Regions from separate parts of the Homo sapiens genome. Here region 1 is linked to region 2. Evidence: promoter capture Hi-C in human tissues and cell types (Jung and others, 2019). All regions are on one chromosome and are shown on one strand. Each heading gives the region's core, a stretch centred on a gene start or on the middle of the fragment in contact. The rest is flanking DNA. Distances are from core to core; before and after follow the strand shown.

Region 1 (5,345 bases), core at 2,678-5,177, 360 kb after region 2:
ACCTCACTCTGTCACCCAGGCTGGAGTCCAGTGTCATGATCATAGCTCACTGCAGTCTCAAACTCCTGAGCTCAAGCAATCTTTACTGCCTTAGCCTCCTGAGTAGCTGGGACTACAGGCATGCATCATCATGCCCAGCTAATTAACATTTTTTTTTTTATAGAGATGGGGTCTCCCTATGTTGCTCAGGCAGGTCTCAAACTCCTGGCCTCAAGCAATTCTCCTGCCTCAGCCTCCTAAACTGCTGTAATTATAGGTGTGAGCAACTGCACTGACCCTTATTAATCTTTAGCCAGAATTGCTTCCTAAGGAGTAAGAAGAAACCAGCTATGAAAAATAAGAAACAGACAACTCATTCTCTTATCTCCTTTAGTCTATTGTCTGAGGCTGTGACTGGACTCCCCTTCCGTCTTTGCAGTTTTAAGGTGACAGCTGACCAGTTTCACAATGTGTCCCTTCCTAAAAACTGACCACCAGCTCCAGACTGGTTTTGGCTGATTTGAAGAGGATGTACAGTGGGGTTTTTTCGGGTTCTCTGCTTCACCTTTTGATATCAGAGGCCTGAAAACTCCACTCTTGGACCATGCTATTGCTAACATTTTTTGAATGTGCAACCCATGAAGAGGCATGAAGCTCAATTGCACATGTGCATGTTTCTCCTTTCATCAATATTTGTGACTCCTATAGCTTATTGAATATGTATACTTAGCCAATTCATTTAGCACAAATTCCTTCTTATCCTTCCCTCCCTTGGAGCATTTGCTCTGGGCTTCTGCTGAAGTCTACACTTCCCAGACTGCAGGATGGCTAGGCTGCCCCCTTTTTTTTTTTTAAATTTTACTTTAAGTTCTGGGATACATGTGCAGAACATGCAGGTTTGTTACATAGGTATACATGTGCCATGGTGGTTTGCTGCATCTATCAACCCATCATTTAGATTTTAAGCCCCACATGCATTAGGTATTTGTCCTAATGCTCTCCCTCCACTTGCCCCCACCACCACCCCAACAGGTGCTGGTGTGTGTTGTTCCGCTCCCTGTGTCCCTGTGTTCTCATTGTTCAACTCCCACTTATTAGTGAGAACATGCGGTGTTTGGTTTTCTGTTCCTGTGTTAGTGTGCTGAGAATGATGGCTTCCTGCTACATCCATGTCCCTGCAAAGGATATGAACTCATTCTTTTTTATGACTGCATAGTATTCCATGGTGTATATGTGCCACATTTTCTTTATCCAGCCTATCATTGATGGGCATTTGGGTTGGCTCCAAGTCTTTGCTATTGTAAACTGCAGGCTGCACTTTTTATGAGAGATAAAGCTCTCCTCTCTAAATTCATGAACCTCATGATTCTTCCATTCACAGAACCTATAGGAGATAGATAGATAGGTATGAGAGGTTATTTACGAGGGGAATTGGCTCATGTGATTATGGAAGCCTAGAAGTGTCATAACAGGCTATCTGCAAGCTGGAGACCCTGGGGTGCCAGTAGCATGGTTCAAACCAAGTCCCAAAGCTTCAGAACCAGGGAAGCCAGTGATGTCACTCTCAGTCTGAGGCTGAAGGCCTGAGAACCTGGGTGACTGCTAGTGTAAGTCATGGAGTCCCAGTGCTGAAGAGTCTGGCGCTGTGCTGTCTTCAGGCAGGAGGAAGAGAGTGTCCCAGCTCCAGGAGAGACAGAGAGGAAATCCTTTCTCTCATTCTTTGTCCTATCCTGGCCTCCAGCTGACTGGATGGTGTCTGCCCACACTGAGCAGGTCTTCCCTCCTCAGTCCACTGACTCACCTGCTAATCTCTGGAAACACCCTCACAGACACACCAAGAAGGAATGCTTGACCAGTTCTCCAGGCATTCCTTAATCTAGCCAAGTTGACATCTAAAAGTAACCATCACAGTGTATAATGTATTTAGATGTTTGTTTATTTTCTGCCTCTTCCACTAAATTGTAAGATCCAGGATAACAATGACTTGGTACCCCCAGCACTTAGAACTAAACTTTGCTTGGAACAGAGGCCACCAATAAAACATGGCTAGAGAGAAGAATGAAGGAAGGAATGATTACCAGCAGCAATAGAGACTAATGCTTCTTCTAGGGCTGGGGAGAAGAAGGCTCCCCACAATCACTTTTTTTTTAGCATCTTGTGCCCACCCACATGGCCAAAGGATTAACATGTACTGATGAACTTAATGCCTCAATTCGTTGCCAGGCACTGAATCATTCACTGTGAATGGTTCCAATTAAGGTTTACCCTTAGACTAGGAGTGGGGTCTATTCAACCTAAACACCTGGGCTGTTACACAGCAGGAATAGCGGACAGGTCAGAATGGATGTTGAGAGGCAACTCCATTTCCCGCTACAAGAGTTCAGAGGCGGTCTATCAGAAATAATGAGCTTCAAACTGGGCATTGCGTTCCAACTTGCACATGATAAGTGGTCACCATACAAAGTCAGTGACAGAATACATACCTCCCCAAGCCTCGCTCCTCCCTCCTTCTTCCAGCTAAATCCTTTGGTCTAAAACATACAGTTTGTTATTCTGCAAAATAAATAAAAAGGATACACTGTCACACAGTTGCTTTGAATGGGATGAAAAAAATGAATGAACAAACCAATGGTTAAAATTCTGTACAAATGGACTGCACACCAAATGGGAACAGGCATGATGCAGAACACCTGAGTAGCTGGGGTTACGGGCATGCACCACCGTGCCAGCCTGGATTTTTGTATTTTTAGTAGATATGGGGTTTCACTATGTTGGCCAGGCTGGTCTTGAACTCCTGGCCTCAAGTGATCTGCCCGCCTCCCAAAGTGCTGGGATTACAAGCATGAGCCACTGCGCCCAGCCAGCAGATTGCCTTTGGACTTGAACTCCAACTCTTCCTGGTTTCCAGTCTGCTGGCCTACTCTGCAGACTTTGGACTTTCCAAGCTTCCACAATCACGTGAGCCAATTTCTTAAAATCTCTCTCTCTCTCTATCTCCCCACACCTATCCTGTTGGTTCCATTTTTCTGGAGAACCTTAACTGACACAGATTATCCCCTGGGGTACTGATGATAAAATTGTGGCAAAAAACAATATGTTGTCCGGGAGCCTATGTTGTTTTCTAACAGTAGCAGTTGTGCACACCTCGGCCATGGTGACAGATAAAACTTGTGCATCTTCCAACTGATAACTGTTACTACTGGTCCTGGAGACTCATTACTTTAGGGAACTATAAGCAGTTTATGCATTTTCAAAACCACTGGGGTGGTCAAACAGACTAGAAAGATCATATTCCTAGGATCTATTTATGGGAGCAAGCATAGAGTGATCAGGCCAGGCAATAAGACCAGGCACCAGAGCAAGATTCAATAAACTGACTGGACTATGATTCAACTGAATCATTGTTTCTGGAGTCTCTGTGCCTTTGTACATGCTGTTCCCTCTGCCTAGAAGAGTCCTACTTTCACTATGTATTAGTCAGGGTTCTCCAGGAAAACAGACCAATGGGATATGTATATATCCAGAAATAGATTTATTTTAAGGAATAGGTTCATGCAATTATGTCAAGTCCAAAATCTGCAGGATGGGCCAGCAGGCTGGACACCCAGGGCAGAGCCAATGTTGCAGTTCATTTCTGAAGGCCATCTGCTGGCAGGATTCCTTCCGGCTCAGGGAGATCAGTCTTTTGCTCTATTCAGATAATTGAGTGAGGCCCACCCACATTAAGGAGGGCAATTTGCTTTACTCAAAGTCCATCTATTTAAATGTCAATCTCATCTGAAAACACCCTTACAGAAACATCCAGAAGATTGTTTGACCGAATATCTGGGCACTGTGGCCCAGCCACACTGACACATAAAATTAACCATCACCTATTGTTTGCTGGGAATTTCTCCCCATTCTTTAAGGTTCAGTTGAAACATCTTGGCAACATCAAGCTGCTTCTTCATTCCACCGCTCGGCCTCAGGACATTCTTATATTTGAATCCCTGTCCCACAGTACTGTAATGATTTACTCACATGCCTGTGGTCTCTCCTAGACAGTGAGCTTCCAATGGCATGGACCATGGGTCTACTGGAGACAATATTGCAAGATGATATTCTAGACTCTACCCAATGCCTAGCATACAGAGTTGTTCAATGCAATTCATAGAAGAAGGTGATAAATTAATGGAGGGGAATCAGGAGCTAGAAATAATAGCAGCATTGAGTTATTTGATCTCCAAATAATGAGCTTCTTCTCCTCTCCACCCCCCGACAAATATTTGTTGCTTCGGAGATGCAACAGAGCTAGCGGATCTACCTGGTCACTCTGTCCCAAGAACACATGTACACACATACCCATATTCATTATGACAGACCATGAAATGATTTGCCAAGTCAGCCTCTTGCTAAATACCTGAACTTGGGCATGATGCTTACATTCCAAAAGCTTGTTTTCTTTTAAAATCAATCATATGAGAACAACAATAATAATACCTATAGCACAGTGTTGTTAGAAAAATTAAGTGCCTATCATATAGTGGGTCCTTAGTAAAAGTTGATCCTCTTCCCTTAACCATGTTTGTTTTTATTTTTGAGACAGGGTCTTGCTCTGTTGCCAAGGCTGGAGTGCAGTGGTGTGATCTCATCTCACTGCAACCTCCACCTACCGGGTTCAAATGATTCTCATGCCTCAGCCTCCTGAGCAGCTGGGATTACAGGTGCCCACCATGACACCTGGCTAATTTTTGTATTTTTAATAGAAACAGGGTTTCACCATGTTGGTCAGGCTGTTCTGGAACTCCTGACCTCAAGTGATCCTCCCGCCTTGGACTCCTGAAGTGCTGAGATTACAGGCATGAGCCACCGTGCCTGGTCCCCTTGACCATGTTTGAGTTAACATCTAGTATATCGTGCATTAACTATTGAAAGTAACAAAGAACGTGTCAGTGAGTTCCAAAGATACTCTTAATGTCTCTTGATGACCTGGCCTTCTTATTTGTCTTCTTTCACTTTTTGACCAAAAGGAAGAACATAGATTGTGTAGGCAGTGGTCCCACACGAAAGAAGGAGAAGATAACTGGTGTGTGCACTATTTTATACTTTATTGAAATCAGTGATTCTTAATCTTGTCAGGAACACAGGCACTTTTGAGGATCTGAAGATAGCTAAGGACTCTTTCCCCAGAAAAATGCATATAAATGTGACACTTTGCATATAATCCTAAGATGTTCATGGACCCCACACACTCAAGGTTAAGAATCCTGAATCAAAATCTCCTCATTTGCTGCCTGTCCCTTGCTTCACATGTTCTGTCTCTCTCTATATATAGATACACACACATGCTCTCTGTTTCTCTCTCTGTATGCGCACAATGTTTCTCT
Region 2 (5,237 bases), core at 2,718-5,217:
AATAAACGGACATTCCCTTCAGAGGATAAAGATCGAGTATGGTCTTTCTCGTACTTCTGTTGTATTCCCTACAATGCATGGTGCTTAGGTGGCTCTCAAATGCTTCCAGTGATTGAATGGAAGAACCACTATTAGCAGGAACCTGGCAGGAGCTGTGGTTCACCGACACTAGCAGCTCCAATAAAGTAATAACCTAAGGAAATGGAATTCCTCTCCGCCTTCCTCCAACCAACTCAGGTACTTCTTATATGAGATTTAATTGAGGTCAGGGAAGGGAACAAGTAGCACCTTCCATCCTGCCAGTAAAAAAGCAAAGGGAGAGAAAGGGGAAGCCCCAGGCCTGAGGTCCTGCAGCCGGGAATTCCAAGGCGGCATTAGGAAGGGGGTCAGGATCAGGGCACTGGCAGAGCCGTCTCTTTTCTTGCTTCCTTCCTGCAATCAAGAGTGGGGATCTCGGTGGTGATGGTTGGTGGACATCAGAAGGGAAGGGGTCAGCAGGGACTGAGTTCTGGGACTTCCTGAATGAGGCAGACCCAGGCCCGTGATCTTGGGCCATAGGCCCCCTAACCCCTGCCCACACGTTGCTGGCCTTGCAGCTGAATGAAGGTCCTCTACACCATCAGATCAGCCTCTCTTTTTGGGGGAACATGGCGCCCTTATTGTGGGGCTCTCTCTTCTCCTCTCCTCATTTCCAGTCTGGTGAGCTTTCTTCTGTGTTGCTCAACAAAGCTACCCATCACTTTCAACCGGGTGACACTCTAAGGATGATAACTAGAGTTGGGAGTGAAACATGGGTCTCCAGACCCCCGTCCTACTGTTTCTTTCATTTATTCCCAAGAACCCTCAACCTTGGTCTGCAGACCATTTTAATAGGATGAGAGACCTAGGAAGTGAATGATTCCATCTACTGGTCCTGTCCTTCTTCTCCTCTGGGGCATCTCAAAATCACTCAGATACCCCAGAATCACTCAGCTATTCCACCTGCCCTAGTCCTCCCTGTCTTCTTCCAGAGAGCCAGCCCCCAGGGACACAGGTGCAGGGCCGGGACTGGGAGAGGCAAGCAAGGGGACTAGAGCTCAGGATTTAAAGGGGCACTCACTCTTAAAGTTGTGGAGTGCCTCCTTGAAATCTGTGCTCTGGTTGCCTCATTGGCCTCATCTAGTCCTGGCTTTGTGCAGGCAGGTGTCTCCATAAAGGGATAGGAGGAGACCAAGAGGTTAAGAGGAGAGTAGAAAAGAGAGTACTAAGAGGACAAGGTGGGACATCCAAAGTCAATGGCACTACTCAGGAGGCTGAGGCAGGAGGATGGCTTGAGCCCAGGAGTTGGAGGCTGTAGTGAGCTATGGTGGCCTGTGAATAGCCATTGCACTCCAGCCTGGGCAACATAGTGAAACACTGTCTCTAAGAATAACAACAACAACAAACAAAGCCAATAGCAAAGTGAAGAGCAATGACTGAAGACAGGTTCAGAACAAGCATCCCCACACATGCTCTCTGTCTCACACACCCTGGACCTGCCAGACAGATACCATCCAGAGAACAGTGAACAAAGGAAAGATCAAATACACTCATCACATTCTCATTAGGAGGACCTAATGGGAATGTGGTCCTGGGGAGGGGGTGTAGAGATAGGGTAGGATCCCCAAAACCACATCATCTTTGTTCTTTCACCATCCTCAGACTTGACGTCTTTTGCTCGATGTCATGAAACTCACCCTAGACATGGTGATTCAGACTCCGTGCTGGAAGAGCCACCAGGGACAACTAGTCCTCACTATCCAGTGTGGTAGCCACAAGCCACACACACTTTTTGAGCAATGGAAATGTGGCTGGTCCACACTGACAGGTGCTTTAAATATAAAAGACACACTGGGTTTTTGAGGATATAGTTGGAAACCAAAGAAGTAAAATAGCCCCTTAATATTTTTAAAAATATTGATTACATGTTGAAATGATCATATTTGGGATCATATTTGGGTAAAAAATATACAGTGTTATTAAAATTAATTTTCCTGTTTCTTTGTACTTCTTTTAATGTGGCTAGAAATTTAACATGACATATGTGGGCCAGGTGTGGTGGCTCCCACCTGTAATCCTAGCACTTTGGAAGGCCAAGGCTGGAGGATGGCATGAACCCAGGAGTTTGAGACCAGCATGTGCAACACAGCGAGACCTTGTCTCTATAAATAATAAAAAGAATTACTTGGGAGGCTGAGGCGGGAAGACTGCTTGAGCCTGGGAGGTAAAGGCTTACAGTGAGCCATGATGGTATCACTGCACCCCAGCCTGGGTGACAAAGTGAGAGTGTCTCAAACAAGAAACAAACAAAAAAATTAGCCAGGTGTGGTAATGCACACATGTGGTCCTGGGTGCTTGGGAGGCTGAGGTGGAAGGATAGCTTGAGCCTGGGTGATTGAGGCTGCAGTGAGCCGATTGTGCCATTGTACTCCAGCCTGGGTGACGGCGAGACCTTGTCTAAAAAAGAAAAAACACACAAAAAATAAAAAACAAATGTGGCTTATGTTTGTGGCTTGAATTATAGTTCTATTGTACAATGGTAGTCTAGTTCAACTTCTTGAACAGACGAGAACGCTGGGGTCCGGAGAGAAGCCCTGACTTAGCGGATGGCACACACTATAAAGCACTGTCATTTGCAGTCCCACCAGTCTCTCAGTACCCACCCCCACTCTGCCACACACACCCCTGGGAGTCTTAGGTGTGAAATGGGTGGACTCACAGACCCCTGGGCTGCATACCTCAAAGTGTTCCAACACTCAAGGCACTGCCTGTGGTTTTTTGGGAGTGAAATAAAAACCTAACAATGGTGGGGTCACAGTCTCCAGTAGGTCACATTTTAAAAGCACTTTAGGCTCTGGAGACTTGGGGTGTGGGGAGAAGTGAAGAGAAAGCTGGGGAGCCCTGGGCCTTCCCCCATTTCTTCATATGCAGAATAATCCAGATTAGTTTACCAAGCGCGCTGATAACCACTTTAAAAACAGAGTCCCTCCTGCCTCCCCGTGGCATGGGGTAGAACCTGGCTTGAGCCCCGACACAGGCGGGCAGCCACTCCAGGATCGTTCCACACGTAAACAAAGACGAGTTTCGGTCCGATTGGCTTGATCCTGGAAGAGGAGTGGGCAGTGGAGGGAGGGGAAACCAGGCACCAAAGCAAATTCCTTCATTTCATAATTTCATCTGGCGCCCCCGTTCAATCAGCCTGCATTGTCGAGGCTTTAGGAGAGGCAGTTAGGAAAGGAGAGATACTGATCTCTCAGCCCCAGGGCAGCACTAATGGTGCCTGTCTAGACTCTGACAGGTGGAGCTGCTGAGCTAACTACGGACCTGGTGGGGGAAGTTTTCCTTGGCTTTCACGTGGCTTTGGCTGGGGAGCCCTGAGAAGGTGGCTGCCTCCTTTTTCTGAAGCCTGGCTTCCCATACGGCAGTGGCTGGGGGAGAGTGATGGAGAGAAAGGCTAAGCTAAGGTCAAAGAAAGTGGAGGAAGGCTGGCTTGTCCCGCTGGACTTGACGGCGGAGCTGCTGCAATCTCGCGGGCTGGGCCCTTGCCCCGGGTGGACCCGAGTGCCTGCGGGGAGGCGGGTGTGGCTCCCCCGGGAGGTGACAGCTGGCGGGGCCCGTAAGGAGCTGGTCTGCTCCGGCTCCCCTCTCGTAGCCGGCGCCCTGGGACCAGCGCGTGAGCACGTCTCGGAGGAGTCCGATGCGCTGGGCAGGGCCGGGTGGTCACCCCCGCCCAGCTTCCAGGGGTGACTGTGCCTCTGACGTCAGACGGTTTTTGGGTCATTCCCTGGCACGGGGACTTTATTTTCATAACAGCATGAAGTGCCGTGGAACTGGAATAGGCGTGTCCTCTCCCTCGACCCTCCCCCTCCTTGTCCCTCTGCTCACCCCTCGCTCGTTCCCTCCCTCCGGCGAGGGCCGCCTTTATAACAACTGCTCAGAGTGCGAGGGCGGGATAGCTGTCCAAGGTCTCCCCCAGCACTGAGGAGCTCGCCTGCTGCCCTCTTGCGCGCGGGAAGCAGCACCAAGTTCACGGCCAACGCCTTGGCACTAGGGTAAGTGAGGCGCCAGGAGCCCAGAGCGCTGGGGCCTCCGGATTTAAATCGTCTGGGGAGAGCGGGGCGTTGGGAGGGGTGGGATAGAAGAGGAGAGAAATCCTGGTAATGGAATACAGTTGGCTATGAGAAAAAAATTCCCTAGGAAACAGTTCCTCTAGTTTAACAACTCAGATTTTTTTTTTTTTTTTTCCCCTTTGCGGGTTTCCTAGGCTAAGATAGAGGCAGAGAGCAAAGAGATAATCAGGGTAATAGTTTCTGCTCGGACACATTCTACAAACTTTGAGTAGATGGAATCCGGCCAGGCAGGAGGTGAGCAGCTCTGGGATCACTCTGCAGGAAAAGAATAGAGGGAGAAAGATCTCAGAGGACCCGAAGGTACTGGGAGTGGAGGGGGAGTGGGAAACAAGGGGCAGGGGCAGGAGGGAGGACACGGTGACAGCTACTATTTTACCCAGATGCTGCAAAAAGCCCTTCTGAGTTTTGGGAATTAGATCTAGAAGCCCATCCCTTTTCTCTTGATGTGTGGGCGGTCAGTTCCACTCTGGTGTGCCTTGAGTTGCTCAGAAACCTGGGACAGATGAAAGTTGAATGTGCGCTGAGAGTGCACCTTCCACTACCGACTTTATGGATAGGATTTGGGAATAGCATAGATGCTGTTCCATCTGGTCCCTTAAACATCCATGGGGAAGGCTGGCAAATAGCTTTATTTTATTTTTTGAGATGGAGTTTCACTCTTGTTGCCCAGGCTGGAGTACAATGTTGCGATCTCAGCTCACCGCGACCTCCACCTCCCGGGTTCAAGCGATTCTCCTGCCTCAGACTCCCGAGTAGCTGGGATTACAGGCATGCACCACCACTCCTGGTTAATTTTGTATTTTTAGTAGAGACGGGGTTTCCCCATGTTGGTCAGGTTGGTCTCAAACTCCCGACCTAAGGTGATCTGCCCGCCTCAGCCTCCCAAAGTGCTGGGATTACAGGTGTGAGCCCCCGCGCCCGGCCACAGATAGCTTTAAACATCCATGGGAAAGGCTAGCTAACAGCTGAAACCTGCTCAGAATCAAGGAATTTGAAGGACTTTCCATTCCTGACTTCTTTCCATTCCTGATTGTCTCCTCAGAGGCTTGTGTAAACACCACACCTGTTGAAGGGTTCGGCCGAATCAGC

Evidence for each region. The method cuts DNA at HindIII sites, captures the fragments that hold promoters and counts their contacts. A contact is called where the count stands out against the background at its distance.
Region 1: a contact is called between a fragment that was not itself captured here and the fragment with the promoter of GPRC5A in region 2, in 1 of the 25 tissues and cell types used here (hippocampus).

Annotation. Positions count from the first base shown.
Region 1 is chr12:13,248,847-13,254,191 of GRCh38, forward strand. No RefSeq gene overlaps it. Among named protein-coding and RNA genes, the nearest start is that of EMP1, 55 kb to the left of the region's middle. The HindIII fragment of the contact is 3,421 bases long and covers 2,218-5,345 here.
Region 2 is chr12:12,887,595-12,892,831 of GRCh38, forward strand. GPRC5A (G protein-coupled receptor class C group 5 member A) reads left to right here and starts at 3,968. Exons shown (of 4, transcript NM_003979.4): 1 at 3,968-4,070. The HindIII fragment of the contact is 16,829 bases long and covers 1-5,237 here.